Regions from separate parts of the Homo sapiens genome. Here all the other regions are linked to region 4. Evidence: promoter capture Hi-C in human tissues and cell types (Jung and others, 2019). All regions are on one chromosome and are shown on one strand. The core of a region is centred on a gene start or on the middle of the fragment in contact, and the rest is flanking DNA. Distances in the headings are between cores, read along the strand shown.

What was found. Contacts are between HindIII fragments. The study calls those that stand out against the background at their distance.
Region 1: a fragment that was not itself captured here is called in contact with the fragment with the promoter of VPS54 in region 4 in 1 of the 25 tissues and cell types used here (mesendoderm cells).
Region 2: a contact is called between a fragment that was not itself captured here and the fragment with the promoter of VPS54 in region 4, in 1 of the 25 tissues and cell types used here (spleen).
Region 3: a contact is called between a fragment that was not itself captured here and the fragment with the promoter of VPS54 in region 4, in 1 of the 25 tissues and cell types used here (liver).

Annotation. Positions count from the first base shown.
Region 1 is chr2:64,557,251-64,559,950 of GRCh38, forward strand. All of the region lies in intron 2 of AFTPH (aftiphilin), which reads left to right. LOC105374773 (a long non-coding RNA gene) reads right to left here. Exons shown (of 7, transcript XR_007086343.1): 5 at 202-2,700. Among named protein-coding and RNA genes, the nearest start is that of MIR4434, 33 kb to the left of the region's middle. The HindIII fragment of the contact is 5,920 bases long and covers 1-2,700 here.
Region 2 is chr2:64,608,685-64,611,384 of GRCh38, forward strand. All of the region lies in intron 1 of LINC02579 (long intergenic non-protein coding RNA 2579), which reads left to right. Among named protein-coding and RNA genes, the nearest start is that of LINC02579, 2.7 kb to the left of the region's middle. RefSeq lists a silencer at 374-1,053. The HindIII fragment of the contact is 5,089 bases long and covers 1-2,700 here.
Region 3 is chr2:64,651,666-64,654,365 of GRCh38, forward strand. SERTAD2 (SERTA domain containing 2) reads right to left here and starts at 2,248. Exons shown (of 2, transcript NM_014755.3): 1 at 1,955-2,248. LOC124907776 reads left to right here and starts at 2,406. Exons shown (of 1, transcript XM_047446580.1): 1 at 2,406-2,700. The coding sequence starts at 2,615. RefSeq lists silencers at 1,212-1,291, 1,592-1,921, 2,030-2,324, 2,062-2,700. The HindIII fragment of the contact is 3,819 bases long and covers 1-2,700 here.
Region 4 is chr2:64,017,997-64,020,696 of GRCh38, forward strand. It overlaps VPS54 (VPS54 subunit of GARP complex), which reads right to left and starts at 1,432. Exons shown (of 23, transcript NM_016516.3): 1 at 942-1,432. RefSeq lists an enhancer at 616-685 and a silencer at 846-1,555. The HindIII fragment of the contact is 9,038 bases long and covers 1-2,700 here.

The sequences.
Region 1 (2,700 bases), core at 74-2,573, 540 kb after region 4:
TATTGTTCTGGATATCATTTAGAAATTTAGGTAATTGGTAAGTAATCTGTTTATATTAATTGGGTATAGAAAAGGAGGCTATGAGTTATTTTTTATTAGACATCCAATTGATAATGCTACAGGGAAAATGCTGTTAGCTGAAGATTTGTTTTGAGAGCTTTGAAAGTCAAGTGCCACCAAAAAGAAGAGAATTACTAATACCTTGGCTTGTGTTAGTTCAAGATTAAGTTACTGGTTTGTTTTGTTTTTGAGACGGAATCTTGCTCTGTCGCCCAGGCTGGAGTGCAGGTGCAATCTCGGCTCACTGCAGCCTATGCCTCCTGAGTTCAAGCGAGTCTCGTGCCTCAGCCTCCCAAGTAGCTGTGATTACAGGCATAGAAACTCAGTGTTCTTAAACTGAATATAACCAGTCCTACCTTTTCATCTTCACTTATTTAGTCATCTAGCTAATATTTATGCAGGTTTTCCATCCTGTGAACACTGGAACATACAACTGAAAACAGAAGTAAGCAACAAAATAAGAGAATTAAGATGTAAGACTTTAGCTTTCCTTATAGATCTTTCCTTATTTAACTATTTCGATAGAATTTCCTTTTGCTATTTTTTCCTCAGAAAATTTGACTATCTGGTGTTTAATTTCAAAATAGAAATGCTTTATTAGATTTATTCAGAAACTGTACAGAAGGGAAAAATCATGTTTAGATCTGGTGAATATTACAGCTGGTCACTCTTTATACAGCTTGAAATTGGGGATTGGTAAGTATACAGTTGTAGATTGTACTTGATAGCTTACTTAATATTTAATGGTGCTGCAGCATAAGATATCCTCTTAAATGGAAGATTAAATTACCCAGTGGATTTTAATGTTTCTTCTAAACTTCTACTTGAGTGTGAAACCTAATGTTATCAATATTAAAACTATTGATATTAATCAACTCCTGTCCCTAAGCAAGAAAGGAAAACTAACTGGAAATAAGTTGAAGGAATATCAAGAGTTACCTTAAATATAAAATACTTAAGTCATTACTTAATATCCTTGATAGGGTCTTGGAAACTGCAACTTTAAGTGAAAGGACATATAACAAAACCAATTTTACCATAGGCTAACTGATATAAACAAGAGTTAAGTTTCTATGGCATCTTTCTGGTCACAGAAACATCACTGAACCTCTAAATAAAGACACAAAGCACTTCTAATATTAAACATTGAAATAAATGTGAGCTATGCTCACATTTAAGAAAGATTACAAAGAACAAGAAACATAATTACTTACCCAGTTTTTGGTGAATCAGTGAGTGACATCACTCATAGTGGTGCTGGGTAAAATCAAGGGATAAACGTTTGCAAAGCAAAAATGATCTAAGGAGCACCTCCTACCACCATACAATTCAAAAACAATCACAAATCTGGCAGGCTCACTGGGCACTTTCATACTGCATAATTTATTGCTGTGCATTTGTATGATTATTGTAGACTTCACGAATGTTTACTTTGTAATTTATTCTTTTTGCAATCTACTTATTCCAGCTCAGGGTCATCAGTGGCCGAAGCCTATCCCTCCAGCTCAGGGTACAAGGCTGAAACTATTCCTGGCCTGAATGCCATTCCATTGCAGGGCACACTCACACACACATACCAGCACTTACTCAGACTGGAACAATTTAGACAATCTAATGTACACATCTTTAGGATCTATAAGGAAACTGGCATACCCAGAAAAAAAACCCAGGTGGACATACGGAAAATGTGCAAACTCCACACAGGTAGTGGCTGCAGCCAGGAATCAGTTGTTTTTCTCATCAACATTACAACAAAATGACATTATTCAAGGACCTGCTGTCCTTTAAAGGAGATAGGCATTTGAATGGCATAAGAACCAGAGTCTGGGGTCCTGTGTACACCTCTCTGGAAAGCTAAATGAGACTTGCAATACACTTAATCTCTTTATGCCCAGATGTAGTCATTTATAAAATAGAGGTGTATTAGAGTTCTCCAGATAAACAGAACCAATAGGGTATGTGTGGAGGTTAGGGAGGGAAGGATGGGGAGGGGAAGTAGAAGTGGAGGTAGTAGAGAGAGAGAGATTGATTATTGGAAATTGAGAAGTTCCAAAAGCCACAGTGCATAAGCTGGAGACCCAAGAGCTGATGGTGTAGTTCCAGTCTGAGTCCAAAGCCCTAAGAACCAGGAGAGCAGTGGTGTAAGTTCCAGCCCAGGAGCCAGCAGGCTTAAGATCTAAGAAGAGCTGATTTTTTAGCTCAAGTCCAACTGAAGTACCAACTCAAAATCAGGCAGAAGTTCCTTAGCATTTTTGTTCTATTCAGGTCTTCAGCTGATTGGATGAGGCCTACCCACATTAGGGAGGGCAATCTGCTTTAGTCAGATTACCAATTCAAATCTTAATCTCATCTAGAAACACCCTCACAGGTACTCCCAGAATAACATGTTTTCGCGTTCTTTGGTTTGTTTTTGAGACAGGGTCCCATTCCGTTGCCCAGCCTGGAGTGTAGTGGCATGGTCTCTGCTCACTGCAGCCTTCACCTCTTGGTTTCAAGCAGTCCTCCCACCTCAGCCTCTCTAGTAGCTGAGACTACAGGTGTGTGCGACCACACCTGGCTAATTTTTGTATTTTTTATAGAAATGGGATTTTGCCATGTTGCCCAGATGGTCTCCAACTCCTGGGCTCAAGCAATCTGCCT
Region 2 (2,700 bases), core at 137-2,636, 590 kb after region 4:
GGTGAAACTCCGTCTCTACTAAAAATACAAAAATATTAGCCGGGCGTGGTGGCGCATGCCTGTAATCCCAGCTACTCGGGAGACTGAGGCAAGAGAATCGCTTGAACCCAGGAGGCGGAGGTTGCAGTGAGCCGAGATCGTGCCACTGCACTCCAGCCTGGGCGACAGAGCAAGACTCTGTCAAAAAAAAAAAAAAAAAAAAAAAAAGACAGAAGAAGGAAGGAAGGAAGGAGGAAGGAGAACCAGTGGCCAGCGCCCTGAGTGTGTTTGGAGAGGATTGGGGTGTGGGGGTGTGCGTTTGAAGCCTTGTGTCTCCTGTGGACAAGGAGGAGCGCTCTGTGCCCTGGGGGAAGCCAAGGGAGAGGAGGGGTTGGAGAGGCAGGGACCCCGTCCGCCTGGACACTCGGGAGTGAAGGCGTGACAGGCCTCAGCCGGCCGTCCCTCCTCGCGCCTCTGCCCCGGGGGACGCACGAGGACCAGAAAGCCGAGGGGGCGCAGGGCCTGCTCTGGCCGCCGGGCCCGGGATGCCAGGATGCGGGGGGCCGGGGCTGCCGGTGCTCTTGGGGGCAGGGGGAAGCTCCGCTCCCTCTACAGAGGACAACCGCCCCGCCGCCCCGGCAGCCTCCGAGGCGCCCTCTCCGCGCTTCACTCTCGGCCGCTCCCCCGGAGCCACGCGAGCCGGTCGTGGCGGCTGGACCCGAGCCTGGGAGCCTGCAGGCGGCCGCGCCGCGCTGCGCTGCCGAACCGCCCGGAGCCGCAGGTCCGCCGCCCGCCCGCTCGGGGGCGCCCCAGCTTCCGGCCTCCGGCGGCTTCCGCGTCGCGCTCCCAAGGCCCGGCGGCCGCGCCAGGTCCCCTCGGCGCCCCCCGTCCCCTCTGCCGGGCGCTCGCCCCCGCCTCCACCCTGGGATCTGAGCCCGGGCCGTCTCCCCGCGGCGCCGCGCCTGACGGTCACTCTCTCTGACCTCCTGGGCCCAGTCCTGGGGCCAAGAGCCGCATCCCCGGGGACCTTGGTAGAAAAATATGCGGCTCCTGTAGCCACCCAAGATCTTCTGGATGAGAACCCCTGCACCAGCAGACTGGGTGTCGTGGACCTCCAAGCGGTTTTGACGCTGCGGAAGCTTGAGAACCTCCGCTCTGGAGCCCAGACCCCGCTGGAGGGTGGACAGAGCGGGAGGGTGGACTGAGCCTCTCGGGGACAGCGACCCTGTCTTTGTTCCCTGAAATAGCAGGGAGTCCTGCTGATTATTGACTGGTGAGACAGGGAAAATGGTTCCTGCAGGCAGCCCTGGGGTACTTTAATAAAAATGGTCTTTCCTGGATGATGACCAGGAGTGACTTGGAAACTGACACAAATTTCCTCAAAGGATTGATCCATTTAGCATCTGTTTAGATTACATCCCAAGTTGTTGGCAATGGAGCTGGAAAAGCACTCTGACCCTCTATTGTCAATGGTCTCTGAGGGGCTCACAGCACCTGGCGTGGCTCACATATCCAGCATTCTGCCAGGAACGTGGACCCTTGCTTCATGGACGTCATTTATAGGCTGAGTGAAAATCTATCCCAGAAGGTTTGGGATACATTTGAAGATACTTCCAACCTTCACTAAAGATTATTCCCATTTCATAGGAAGGAACTACGTCCCTTCTTATTCCACCTAGAAAAATGTGGAATAATTCAAAAGATGTGACCATAACTTTTTGTCTTTTTTCCAGAATATTTTAAAATATGTTTACATAATATTTACAATAAAATTTAACACATTCATAACTCTGTAATGTGTCGCATCCCCTGAGACCCAAGTGTCTGCTGTTAACCTAGTGACAGGGAGGGCTAAGCGTGGTGTGTTAAGGAATGTTGGCTCACTGCACAATATCTCCCACCAGAAGTCCATTTTGCAGCCAACAACCTTTGAATCACCCTGCCCTTGACTCAAGGGGATGATTCTGATGGTGGAGTACGGATCAGAGCGAGGGGAGATTTGGGATAGGCCGGCCAGGTCTCTCAAGTCCCATCTTCCAGGTGACCCTCTCACCTGCTTCTAAGCCTTTGAATGGGTTGTAAGAGGTTGGGGGCTGGGGGTTAGGGATGAGAGGAGGGCCCCAGAAGATGGGGCTTTCTGGCTGGTCTGCTTGGGGAGGATGGGAGAGGGTTTGATAGAGCAGGTGTTTGTTCAGGGCCAATTGTGCTGTCAAGAGCCTGTTTATCCCAACAATTCTACTTCAGGAATTTCTTCTATGGGAATAATCAGAGAGGCCTTAAATGACCAACAATAGGCTGGGCACAGTGGCTCACAACTGTAATCCCAGCACTTTGGAAGGAGGTGGGTGGATCACCTGAGGTCAGGAGTTCGAGACCAGCCTGGCCAACATGGCAAAACCCCATCCCTACCCAAAATACAAAAAATTAGCCCGGCGTGGCACCTGTAATCCCAGCTACTTGTGAGGCTGAGGCAGGAGAATCGCTTGAACCCAGGAGGCGGAGGTTGCAGTGAGCCAAGATCTAGCCACTGCACTCCAGCCTGGGCAATGGAGAAAGACTCTGTCTCAAAAACAAACAAACAAACAAACGGAAAAACCTAACAATGTGGGAGGGGTTTAAAGAAGAGAGCTCAGTCACATGAGAGAACAATCTGCAGCCATCAAAAAATCCCATTTTCAAAACAGTTCTAATGACATGGAGAATTGCTCATGATATGAGGTA
Region 3 (2,700 bases), core at 109-2,608, 630 kb after region 4:
CAGCAAACAGAAGTGTAAAGATTTTCTAAATCTGAATTAATATCCTTCTCTTAGTTCTTCAAGGGAAACAAGCTTGAGCAGCTGTTACCTAAGACGCTGTGACATTCGCCTGACAATAAAACCGTTCCCTAGGACACCTCCTGTCACACATACACTTGGTTGGCTTTACAAAATGTGAGTCCTCTCCCTTACCTGTCTGAATGAAGTAAGGAAAAGGGCCGGGTGTTAAGGAAAAAGGGGGTTGGGGGATGTCAAATCCAAAATAAGATTTCTCATCTGAGAACAACATGGTTATGTATATTTTAATTAGGGGGTGAAACAAGTAAAAAAAAAAAACTGTTAAAGGATTCCAAACTTAATGAACGACATAAACAATTTTATATTAACATATAATACCCCTCTAAAGAAGTCAATGAAGCTAAAGGAAAACTTTTAAACATTTGTCTCTTTTAAATAAAAAGAAAAAAAACCCTGAAAAAATAAACAGAAAAGCAGAGATCCACAAACAAACTATTCTTGTTCACTCCAGAAGTTGGGATCTTAGGATGGATATTTTCATCTTCACAGCACACCCTAGCACACTCATATCAGAATAGACTGCTATAAAAAGGGGGAGGGATGGGAGCTGCCAGGGTGAGACATGCCTTCTGCTGAGCTGAGCAACTACCCCCAACCCCCATCGGCCAAGCAGCCCAGACGCTCTCAGGTGGACGGTCCTTCAGGGGCGGAGCGAAGCCCAAAGCCCACTTCACTCTTGTCAGGGACTAGTCTCTAACTACAAAAAGCTACTGTGAACACTTAGGGCCTCAGGAATCCTGGTGACTACAACTTCTAGCCTCTTTACACACATTATGGATATTTCTTAACATACATTGGGAAATCAAAAAGCGTATTTCATGAACAAAGCTTGAAAACATGTACTCTCTACCCTAAGCCCAACTGAGGCTGCCCAATTCGATTCAAATAAAAACTGCTGTGGTCTGAGGCTGGCTGTCTCACTCTGCTGACTGTCCTCCCCATTCAGTGTCTGTGAAAACTTACTTTCTACCTCCTGAAACGACTCGGCTTGCAAGCAAAAAGTTATTCCAATGCAAACTATACCTGATATTTTCGTGAAACTTAGAAACTAAACCTAAAACTCGACTCCCATCGCAATCTATTACTACCACTTCTGCTAAAGGTAACTTATAGCCAAGAAAACAAAACAAAATACGATTTTCTGTCCATGTAGTGGCCCTGTGACGACACCCCCTCTCTTACTGGTACAAAGTCTAGGGCTTGGGACAGCTGGCTCCCCTCAGCCCCCTCCCTTTCAGTCATAGGCGGTTACCACGAAGATGACTTGTAGATTTCTAACTTAAAAACCAACGAGACGTTAAGTTTAATATACATGTAGATCCCAAATCAATTCATTTGGGCATGGACGAAAGAAAAGAGGGTGGAGAGGAAGGTTTTCAACATTATTAAAAAAAACACCGGGAAATTCACAAAAACGCACTACAGTAAGTTGGATGCAAACCCGGCCACGGAACTCAAAAGTGAAGCAGCCTTCGCGCCAGCAATCCGAGCCTTAAAAAAAGTCTCGCACGTTCACAACAACACAACCGCCACAACGCGCACACACATCCCAGCTGTAGAGGCGACAGCTCCAGGCGCCCCCGCCCGCCGCTCGGCTCTCCGAGCTCCCGACCCCCTCCTGACCCCGGCCCTGCCCCCCAGCGGCTCAGCCCGCAGGCGCCGGGGGTCCGAGAGCGCGGGGCCCGGACCGGGGCCGCGGGAGGGAGCGCTCCTCCCGTACCTGCTCCGTCCCCGGCTCCCTCCCGCGGCGGCGCCCGGCCCCTCCTCCGCCCTCCGGGCTCTCCCAGCCCTGGCCGAGTCCCAACACCGGCCCCCCATCCACCCGGAGCCCCCCGCGCCCGCGGATCCCCTCCAGCCCGACGCCGGGAGAACTTACCACATGCAGCTCCACCTGGGAACTAACGCATCAGGAGGGGTTTCCGCCCACTCCTCAGCTACTCCCGCTCCATGCGGAGTGCCCCGCTCCAGGGGCCCGAGGGTGGCGCCGGGGAGCGGGCAGCAGGCGAGGCTGAAGCTAAGACTCCGCCGTTCTCTGCCTGCGCGCCCCGAGCATTATACAATGGTGGAGGCGGCGGCGGCAGGCAGCGGAGGAGGAAGCAGGAGGCGGGCGGAGGGGGCGCCCTGACCGAGCGAGCGGTACGTCGTGCTCCAGCACTCGCCGTGCAGGAGTGACGTGCGGCCCGCGAGCCTCCCGCGAGCTCCGGGCCCCGGCGCCGCAGGCCCCGCCCCTGGCCGCCCGACCCCGCCCCCGCCGGCCCCGCCCCGGCCCGCCTCTCCCCGGCGGTCCCGGGAGGCGCGATAAAGGCCGGGGCCGGCCGCGGCCGGCCGCGGCCGCAGGAGGAGCAGGAAGGGGCGGCGGGGCGCAGTGGGCGCCTGGTGGCAGCGCCGCCCCCAGCTCCCTGCCGGGCCGGCGCGCCCCTGATTTTCTCGTAAGGACGGGCTGAAAGAGGAGGGGAGACAGAAGGAGACACTCCGGCCCGAGGACCACCACTGCCACTAGTAACGCCCCCTACACACTCTAGAAGTGCTCAGGCGAATGACGAAGCGGCTGGTGACAAAGGCGGCGGCGAGTGCAGCGCGTGCACAGCCCGCGGAGCCGCGCGACCGCAAATATGACAAGCA
Region 4 (2,700 bases), core at 182-2,681:
TCCAATTAGAACTCCCCTTCGGATTTATAAAAGTGAATGTACATCAAAATCTGCAGTTTAGGTTATCGCAGTAATATTTCTCGGTATACTACAAGTAATTTATCACGGTATTACTTAAAGGCGTTTAGTATTAAGACCGCCCTTGATTTGACAAATCAGAAATACAGCCAATTAAAAACAAAAACAGTCCAAACAATTTAATTCTTCGAAAGAGCCTCAATAAAGACCAAAAAATAAAGCTGGTTAGAAGAAAAAAATTTTTTTTTGAAACGCCTGTCAGTCAAAATGCTAAAAATACCATCTTGAACTCAACACATGAACAGACCAAACGGCTAATTATAATTGGCAAGCCAAAGTTCCCAAGTCAACGACGGGAGAGCAGAAACGGCAGAGAGGGCCTGCCCTTTCTGTCTATGCAGAGATGGAAGGAGGCAGAACTGAAGAAAATTATTGCACAAATTATTTCAAGCTACATTGCCAAAATGCAAAATACTGAGTAACTCTTTGGGTTAGCCTTCCCCGGAGAGAAAAACAAACAAATGTTTTAACGATTCCAGTAGAATCCAATAGGACTAAGGGCCTGGCTGGAAAAAGAAAAGGAAAGTTTGGGGGCAGCGTCTAAGGGGGTGATGGAAGTTCCAGAGCTGGGATCCCGGAAAGATAAGAGAGGGGCAAGAGCGGCGTTTGCGGTCGCTGACAGGAGGCAGGGAACACAGCTGCCAGCCCCGATCCCGGAGGGAGAGTGAAAAGGAAAAAAAAAAAAAAAAAAGGAAGTGGCGGAGAGGAGCATGGAAGCTTCAGTGCCGGTCAGCTGTGACCGAAACTCGGTCCGTTTGGGGCTGGGGAGGAGAGCCGAGGGGGTGGGGTCTCGGTCCCTCTCTCCGCTGTAGGTCGGGGTGAGAGTGGGCTGAGACGCGCGGGGGGCCGCGGGGCACACCTACCTGCGGGTCCCGGGGCAGCCGCCCTGAGCGAGGCCTAGTGCATCGCCGCCGCCTCCAGCCCTCCACGTCGCACCGAGGCTGCTGCTCCACGGCCGCCGCCGCCCGGCGCCCGGCCGGGCCCGAGCCCGGGTTCCCGCCCCCGCCCCGCGCCCGCTGGCCAGTCGGCCCGGGGAGCACAGGGCCGCCCTCTCGAGCCCAGCTTCACTCAGGGGTGAGAGGTGGCAGCGGCGGCTCCCTCACGTCTCTCCCGGGTGTCCTGTCAGCCAGCAGTTTCCCCCGGGTCCGCAGCGCCGCCTCCGCCGCTGCTGCCACCGCCTCTCCCACATCCCCGGCCTCCAGGGGAGCCGCCGCCGCCGCGCCACGACCACTGCCTCTAGCGCTTCTGCTCCCGACTCCACTGCTTTCCCTCACCCCGCCGGCCCAGCCGGCTCGGCCCGGTCGGGTGCGGGGAGACAGCGCCGGAGGCCGCCGCAGCCCCCAGCCCACAATCCACCGCGCGGCTCCGCCGGGGCGGGAGGGCCGCGGCCCGGGCCGGGGGGAGCGCCCGCCGCCTGGGGAAAGCGGCCTTGGCGCAGGCCGGCGTGCCCGTCGCAGGCGCAGCCAGAGTTCTCTCGGGGCGGGGAATACACCGCGTGGCTCCCCTGCGCCTCCTCTAATAGTCCTACACGCAGACAAATCCACGCTGAATTCCACTTTCCCCACCACCCTTCCCCCCAACTCCCAGTTTTCAGGAACACCCAGAAAACCTCCTGCCGCCTTCCCCGGGACTGGGACGCGACCCCTCCAGCGTAGCCCTCGCCACCCCCAAGACCAACCGACTCGAAACATCCCTAAATCACCCGGGACCTATTAAAGCAAATACTTCCACGAGATTCCTCCTCTCCCCCACCCCCTCGAAGTAAATGCTTTTCAGCTGTTCCCTAGTAAATGCCCTTCCAAAGGTTAAAGGTCACCCCTCCGCAACAACCCAGTTCTCTCTATTGAGGCCTTTTCCCCATCCAGTCCTCCCCTCCAAGTCTTCCCCAAGTTCCAGGCCTTCCTCCCAGACACTGTAATCAGTTATTCCTGTTACTTGACTGAGATACTTGGAGTGTGTATGATAATTAATACCTTCTAATTCTGACTTCAGCCTGGTTTCACAGGACTTGCAACTTTAAACCAATAAAACACAGTCCACAAGAAAGGGAAGGTCTTAGTATATAAATATAAAGACACACACACACACACACACACACATATATTTTAGGAAGAAAAAGATCCTCAATCCTTTGAGTGCTTGTGACTTAATTTTGGGAAGATTTTATTCAATGTTGAAATTCTTGCCTAAAAATAAATTTCAAGCATTTATAAGACATAGTATGTTTTAACAAATCAAAAGTGAAAATGTAACTCTTATAGTTGGGGGGTTGAAAAAAATGTTGATCCAAGTTTCACTTCTAAGAAGTCACTTTGAAAACTGCAAACATAACTTTTATGAAATAATATTTTCCCCACCAAAGAGCTAAAGTTGGGGAAAGAGGACAAAAAGTAAGGAAGCATCAAAAATAGTTGAGAGAAAACTCTTACATTATATTTTTCTAAGTTCAATCCTCTAAAATTATGTAAGAAACAAAGTGAGAAAATCATTCCCCAATATGAAATAAATTTAACTGTAAAAGAGTGAAGTCCTCTTAAATCCCTGATCACTTATAAAACCAGATGAGTTTACATAGAAGCAGAGTAGAATGGTGGTTACCAAAGACTGGGGGGTAAAGGGTGA